Linked DNA regions of Homo sapiens: region 1 is linked to region 2. Evidence: promoter capture Hi-C in 16 types of primary human blood cells and fetal thymus (Javierre and others, 2016). All regions are on one chromosome and are shown on one strand. The core of a region is centred on a gene start or on the middle of the fragment in contact, and the rest is flanking DNA. Distances in the headings are between cores, read along the strand shown. Region 1 has its middle 94 kb from the start of PRDM1. Region 2 holds the start of LIN28B (lin-28 RNA binding posttranscriptional regulator B).

What was found. Contacts are between HindIII fragments. The CHiCAGO score rates a contact against its expected background, and 5 or more counts as called.
Region 1: a contact is called between a fragment that was not itself captured here and the fragment with the promoter of LIN28B in region 2, in 1 of 17 cell types (fetal thymus). The highest score is 13.6, in fetal thymus.

What each region holds. Positions count from the first base shown.
Region 1 is chr6:105,990,470-105,994,338 of GRCh38, forward strand. It overlaps a transcript of PRDM1 not described here. Among named protein-coding and RNA genes, the nearest start is that of PRDM1, 94 kb to the right of the region's middle. RefSeq lists a silencer at 2,037-2,246 and an enhancer at 2,777-3,311. The HindIII fragment of the contact is 2,207 bases long and covers 796-3,002 here.
Region 2 is chr6:104,955,255-104,959,022 of GRCh38, forward strand. LIN28B (lin-28 RNA binding posttranscriptional regulator B) reads left to right here and starts at 1,853. Exons shown (of 4, transcript NM_001004317.4): 1 at 1,853-2,006; 2 at 2,845-3,032. The coding sequence starts at 1,997. RefSeq lists enhancers at 866-1,803, 1,804-2,741. The HindIII fragment of the contact is 2,336 bases long and covers 1-2,226 here.

The sequences.
Region 1 (3,869 bases), core at 649-3,148, 1.0 Mb after region 2:
GCAAGACAAGGAAGGCCTAGACTGGAGCAGCAGGAATTAGAAAGGAAGGGAAGGGGCATATCTGAGGCACAATTAGGAGTTTAAATCAGGCAGGACTTGATAACTGACTTAAAGTGGAGGGCAGAAAAAGAGAAGATTCGAGCATGGCTTCCAGGTTTGTAGTATGGATGACTGGGAGGTTGAACTAAGTAAGATCTAGAATGTCCAAAGGGAGAATGGTAGGAGAGGTGATGAGTTTAGCTCCATATATATCCAAGCGGTTTCTTTGTCATTTGTGAAAGAGGGAATTTGGAGCACAGAAGAGAAGTTTAGACCAGAGATATTCTTTCTAGGTGACCTAGTGATAATTATATTAATTTTAAAGGGAAAACAACTTTCATTTCAACCATCCAAATTGGCTTCCAAAAGCAGGAATTAAAAAACAGCTATATTTTAAAATTAACATTTTACATATCTATTCTATGTCATTTTTTTCCAGATAGCAAAACAAAAATGATCTTTTTGGTTATTTAATTAATTCTTATTCTGGACTGCACTTTTTGGTAGATTTTCAGCTAACTTCCCAGAGAAAATAATAATCTCTTCCCCCAAAAGAGTTACCATGTTTGCTTGTGAAATAGCTAGTGGGATAAGACCATACCCTTTCATTTTGTAAAAGTATAAGGGAGAAGTTAAGGAAATTCAAAGGCCATATTATATATTCAAAACAAATTTGAGGAAATACTTTCAAAATGATGTGTAATTAGTTAGTGGAAGTTACTATCACGACCAAAGATTGAAGCAAATTGCTTTATAAGCTTTCCCTTCTCCCTAATCAAACCTGTATATAAAAATAAAGCATGGAAGAATGGACAATACTATATTGTCACTTAAAACTACACACAGGAGGAAGCATAACTTGTTTAACTTTAACAATAATAATTTATCGAGCATTTACTTTGTACCAGTCATTGTGCTAGGCAACTGTCAACACTTTACCTGGTTTCTTCTTACCCTCTGAAGTGTACAAATAACAAATAAACAACAACAACAAAAAAAAAAAACAAAAAATCCCAGAAGTCTTAAAGTTTGAGCAACTTGCTAAAAGTTTTCAGGTGTTGGAGAAATCTTTTTAGAGAGGAGAAAACAAACCATTTTTTTTCCTTTCAAAGATCCAATTATTTATTGCAACTTGCCCTGACTTGTTACAGATGGACACTTGAAGGTCACCGTAGGCAAAAGAGCCTGACTGGTTCACAGGTTGCTGCTGTGCTTCAGAACCTAGTAAGTCAGGCACTGGAAAATGTGCAACATGTAAAATAACACTGTTATATAAATGTAAGAACAAATGAATGGGCCAAGCTCATGTTAGTGATCTGGAATGGTTTCTTTCTATAGGTGAACTTATTTAGGACTATGGAAGAATGTTTTAGTCAGTGACCAGCCGCGATAATGACTGATAAGGGCGGTTAGTGATAAGCGATAAGGACAGGTACAGACATAGGACCGCTGGCTGGGCTCATCCAGAGCTGGCGCGCAGCCCTCTCCCTGCACTCGTACTGAACTGAGTCCAGTCCAGTCCCCCACAGGTTAGAGGTGAGACGGAAGCCATCGTGAGTTTGTTTTTTCAGCGAGTGCCGTTTCCTAGGTTGGATGACAAGCCAGCTTTGGTGGCCCTTCGCTCTCGCTACCCTAATAAACTACCTGGAGCAAGTCCTTCTTCAGAAACAAATCACCACGTCAGCGCTCGGAGGGTGAAGCCCCTACTACTTTCTACTTTTGGTTGTGATGCTGGAGGCCCTTACAATTTCGCAGAACGTTTTGTGGACGCGCGAGCTCAGTGTTGCCCTTGCAATGGGGAAAACACCTGCTTTCCGGGTCCTCGTCCTCCCGGGAGCGCGGACCCTGAACAGCCCCCGTCCGACCTCCCCGGCTCATCACCCCCTTCCAGAAACGCATGGAGCTCTTTTTCTTTGGACTGCCTCTTTTTTGTACTGGCCATCTCAAAATCAAACAAAACAAAAAACAAAAGAAAACAAAACAATATCACTCAGGTGTGAAGCCCCAGTGCAGAAAGTGAAAGTGGGACTAATCCCGGCTGCTGCAGCACCGCCGAGTGAGCGCCAGGGAGGGGCGGGGCTCCAGGGCACGGCGCCCGGTCACGTGACGCGCGTCCGCCCAATCCCAGCGGGCCCTCGCCGCGCGCAGAGCTGGGCCTGGGTAGCTCTTCTCTCTCAATGAAAGCTATATTTTGGGCTGTTACCACCTAAACGCCATGTGGAAACAATGCACCTCCCTCCACTTCAGGTCCCCCTTGCCTGTAAACCTCGAGAGCTGGACGTCCCTTAGCCTGGGAGTTCCTGGACACTGTGCACAATCACTCGTCAACCGCTACCTACTAGGTAGGCGGGAAAGAGCTTTGCTTTCTAGGCGTGTGTCTCCAGATGGGCCCAGGAAAGATAGGGCCTCAGTTCTCTCTGGTTTGTTTGCTGGGGAGGGAGTTAGAGCTGTAAGCCTCCTTCCTCCAAAAGGATGGTTGGAGGGAGTCCGAAACCTTTGGGTCCCAAGACATGACCTAAGGAGTCCCGCTGTCGCCACTCTTCCCGGTTTGGTAGAGGGGGCCCGTGAGTGGCATTTAGCTCTCGCAAAACTGGGCAGATAGACGCACATGTCGACCCTCCTTTTACAATATTTCAAAATAATTCTGCATTGTTTCTCTACTGGAATCGTTAATTATGCATAACTCAGTATCTTAATTTAAAGGAACTGAAGTCCTAACTTTGGGTTAGGTTCTCTTACAAAGACTTCAGGGATGTTTAGCTGGCATCTCGGGTTTGATCCCCAAAATCCACCACGAAACAAAAGCTAGCTTTCCTAAACTCAGTAACAATAGGAGAACTGGTTTAAGCCACCTCTGGGTAGGCAACCCCCACCCCTAAAGCCCTCCTTACTCCAACCTGCCCCTAGGTATGTTTGTGTAATCAGAGACTGATTGTAGCTGCTTTGACGTTTCTCCTCGGGAAAGCTTAGTTTGCATTCATTGAAGTTGCTTGCTTTCTAGGTTCATCTAGGCCAGCAGGGAAGGTGCCACTTGGAAGATTGCTGGGTTTCCTGCTTCGAAGTCTTCAGGAGCGGGCTGAGCTGCGCTGGTGTGCCGCTTAGGACTGCAATGAGGAGGGTGACGTTAGAAGGTCTTTAAAACGTTACGTTTACTATTTTAGGAAACAGATTTTCAAAGAATCAAGGGTAGGGGACAAAATACATTTGGGCTAGGATTTTAGTGAAGAGGGATCACGCCCAGAATGAGGGATAGTAAAAGAGTGGTGGTATGGGGCTCTGATATCGCTTAATCTGTAATCTCCGGCAGTGTTGATAGCTCTCCTCTGGCATTAATTCTTCAGTCTTTTAAAACGGAGTAGAAAGGGACGTTGGATTGATCATTACGGTTTGTTTGGAGAATAGAATTTCGTGTCACCAACTTGGAAGGGTAAATGAATTGCAGAGTCGGATACAGCTAATTTGGGGGAATGTAAGCTGGATGTCTTTTCCTAATTTATGAAACGTGAACGGGGGTAAGGTATTTATTTGTACGCTAGTTGAAGTGGGGCAGGAGCACTGATTCCTGGACAGTCACTCAAAAGCTGCGCCCAAAGTTTTAAAAAGCGCGGGGACGGTGGAGAGGGAGGCGAAGAGCCCGCGCTGCTGGGCTGGGCTCGGGTGCCGCGCTGGGGACGCCGCATCTACTGAGCGGTCGCCGAAGACGCCGGGAGGCGAGGGGCGAGGTAAGACGCCGCCTAAAGAGGCCCGGGCTCTCCCCCGGGGTCGTTGTTGGAAAAGCAAATTCCACGGTGAACTCTACCAAGCTCAGCGCGTACACAGCTAGCGGCTCT
Region 2 (3,768 bases), core at 603-3,102:
TAATTTTTTCAGAGCTTTGAGCTTTTGTTAAACTTTCAAAGTCATTGGATTTTTGCACCTTTTCTTTTCTCCCTAACAGCTGGCACAGGATTATTCCTCCCAAAATAAATAAAATGAGAAAGTAGCCCTTTTTCCTGAGAAATAACAAAAGGAATAACAGACAAAAAAAAAAATCTTTCCAAATTGATTAGTTTTCATTAAACCTTTTATCAAAAACAGCTGAAAATAACTTCTATTTTTTATACATCCATTTTCCAATCTGAGCCAATTAAATTTATATTTAGTTGTTTAATATGGGGAGGGAGTATAAATAGGTGTATACAGCTTTTTCCATAGCTCTTCGATTCATAATCCCTACATTTTAGCTTGTGTGAAACAGTGCTGGAGTGTGGATGTGTTTGAAGAGACTGGGAGGGGGATTGCTGGCATGGTGGGGGAGGGTCAACTCGGTAGCTTTGTCGAAGGAAGTGGTATCTGAACAGTTAGTTTCTTGGTAAACTGCTTGTTTAAGAAAATGGGGGGTGGGGTAGGCAAGTCTGGTGGTGCATTTTAAGGTTTTAAAATAGCGATATTTTATATTTTAAAGGAAATAAAGTCTTTTTAGTTAATCTATAATATTTATTATAGTATTCGATAAGGGCAGAAATACTGTTGCCAGCATCTTGTAATCAATCGTTTGAACCAGTTTGAAAGGTAAAGGGGGTAGGCATTTTGAAACTGGGGGTCAGTTGAGGAAGGACAGTAGGAGCTTCATCCGTTGTTACATTTTCGTTTATTCAACTCTTCTAGCCATTGGTAGTGGACTTTTAAAATGTCAGGGTACAAGTCAATATGATATGAATTTACCTTTTTTCTCCCACTTGTCCTTCTTTCTCCACCCCACCCCCTGCCCGCGCCGGCTTTTTTTCTCTCCCACCTCTTTCTTTGACTCTGCTGCCGCCTATCCTGGCGGCTCCTCTTCACCTCCCCTGCCTGGCGATCCCCTCCCCCTCCTGCCCTATGTCCTCCAGCTCTTGGGGAACAATCGCCACTGATTGAGGTTCACTCTATGTTAGGCTGGAAAACTGGGCTGTTATTTAGGAAGTCATTAATCACATCTCCTCCCCCGGAAAGAGATGGCAGAGAAACCTGTGAAGTACAATTCCTTACCAACCCCCTCTAAAATTTTCCAAAATGGTTTACCTAAACACAATTTGACTATATGAAGGTGAAAACGATTTTTCTAGTAGGATTTTATTTTAAATTTGAAAAAATTTCGGGCATAATCAGGTAATTTATGTGCCTCTGCCTTTTCCTAGGTGTATGTTTTCATTATCTAAAGTTTCATGGGGATGTAATTAGGTTTAATTAGATCTTTTATAAATTATATATTTTCCTCTAAGAATTGAATTAAATATGAAATTAGCGTTCCAAGCAGGTTTACTGCCATGGAATAGCTGAATTCTTAAGGGGAAAAAAAGCGTTAACATCGGTTGTTTTATTTAAACGACCCCCTCCCATGATTTTAGTCAGGCTTGTGTGTAAGGCACGCGTGTGCACATATATGACTGCCTTTTTTTCTAAATCTATGATTCACAAGGTCCCTCCATTGTGTTTAAGTAGAAGCACGAAATCAGCATTCTGATTTATCCTAAAGAAGCGTTCCAAATTGTCTTTAAGATAACATGTTTGAGTTTTTCGTGTTCATTCATAAATTATTTTGATGTCAGCATAGATGAAATGGCGATTGGTTATCTCTTCCTCTTGCCAGCCCCTTAAGGATACGAGGTGAAATTAGTAGCAAGAAAGCATGTAATTGACAAAGTCACGTGTGCTCAGGGGGCCAGAAACTGGAGAGAGGAGAGAAAAAAATCAAAAGAAGGAAAGCACATTAGACCATGCGAGCTAAATTTGTGATCGCACAAAATCAAGATGTTAGATTGATGCAGAAGATCACTCCGTTCCAAAGGGAAAGTTTTCATCTCACGAGTTTGGAGCTGAGGGCCCGTGGGGCAACATGGCCGAAGGTTAATTTTCTTTTCTATTGTTTTACTGTGAATTTCTTTCTTCTTTTCTCCTCCCCCTCCCCCTCTCCCACCCTTCTTAGACCGTCCCCCCCTTCCCCTTTTACCCCAATACTGGGCATTACCTCCCAACCCCCCATCACGCAGTGGGGCTTTCTGCAAACCTATTGTTATAGATCTCCAAAAATGTTTTGTACCGCCCACACTGATTCACAACTTGAAAAGCTTTCAGGGGGCTATTGTTTGAATTGTGTGAGTGTGATTAAGCGCAGTTTCAGTTAGTGATTCCAAGAAAACTTTTATACACCTGCCCCCTCCCCCATTCCACCCCAACTTTAATTGAAAGTTATGGGGGGGAGGGGAATGCACATTGCAAATAACGCTGGATTCAGTGCTGCCCCATGTGCCTTAACTAGTAGCTCTAAACCATCTTCACGATTTCTCTTTCCTCCTCGTGCCCGCCGGAGAGAATAGTTTCGCTGAAAATTTCTCTTTGTCAATGGGATCAGTATTAAATCAGCAATATACAAGTAAAGTATCGCATGCTGTAATGTAAAATGTGGCTGAAAAATGGAGTTAAATGAATAAGTACACGTATGTATAGAAACGTGGAAGTTGGTGTGATCGATAGAACAGTGTGGCTTCCCCCTCCCCCGCTTTCCTTTTAACCCTTTTCATTTTAAGTATTTTCTGTGGAGAAAAGAAATCAAACCATTAAAAAAAATTTTTTTTTTCTGTTACCCTTCCCCCCCAACCCCAGGCAGGCAATTTTTTTTTTTTAATCTTTGAATGCACATTGAATGGGAATACAGACTGACTTTTTTGTCCTGTTCCTTCTCAGGCGGGGCTAGCAAAGGTGGTGGAGAAGAGCCCGGGAAGCTGCCGGAGCCGGCAGAGGAGGAATCCCAGGTTTTGCGCGGAACTGGCCACTGTAAGTGGTTCAATGTGCGCATGGGATTTGGATTCATCTCCATGATAAACCGAGAGGGAAGCCCCTTGGATATTCCAGTCGATGTATTTGTACACCAAGTAAGCCAAACTTTTTTGTCCCCCTCTTCATCTTTTTCCATGTGGAGGAGCTGATCGGTAGTTATGCCAATAGACGTACGATAAGATGTCCTTCGGTATATTGAAAGACAAAATCTTCCCTGAAATCACTAGGTAGTCCAACGTTTAGGGTACGTGTATGGGCCTTTTCCTGGGTTTTCTGTCTAAAGAGAAAAGAAAATATTTGAAATTTCACTATATATATTAAGGTTGACGTTATTAGCATTTCCCCCTGCTTCATTCTACAGCGAAATAGTGTTCTTGTTGTTTCCGGTATTACCTATACAATATACTTTGTCGCCTGTATCTGGTGAATGGGTAGAAAAATGAAGAAACATGATCATTTTAAGGTTGAAAAAACAAAGCGAAACAGTTTGCTGTGGAAAGAAATGTATAGATTGCCTTATTTTAGACACCTCTAGTCACAGTAGCTCCCTTTATTATTTCATCGCTGCCTGTCCTGTAATCATTTTGTAGATTCAGATCAAAATAATTTGACTTCATAGTAAAATAAAATAGAACACTGTTGGCCTAATGTGGTTGTAAAGAAATGCGTGCAATAGAGGGATGCTTGATAAACATTTTAGAAATGTGCTCCGTGTAGTCATTGGTCTACGTATACTGTCTCTTTAAGAGACTGAACTCAAAAAAACATGTGGCCAGAGGCGGCTCTTGCTTGTGTGTTTAAAATGTGCTGGTCTGCTACTTGGGGTAAATT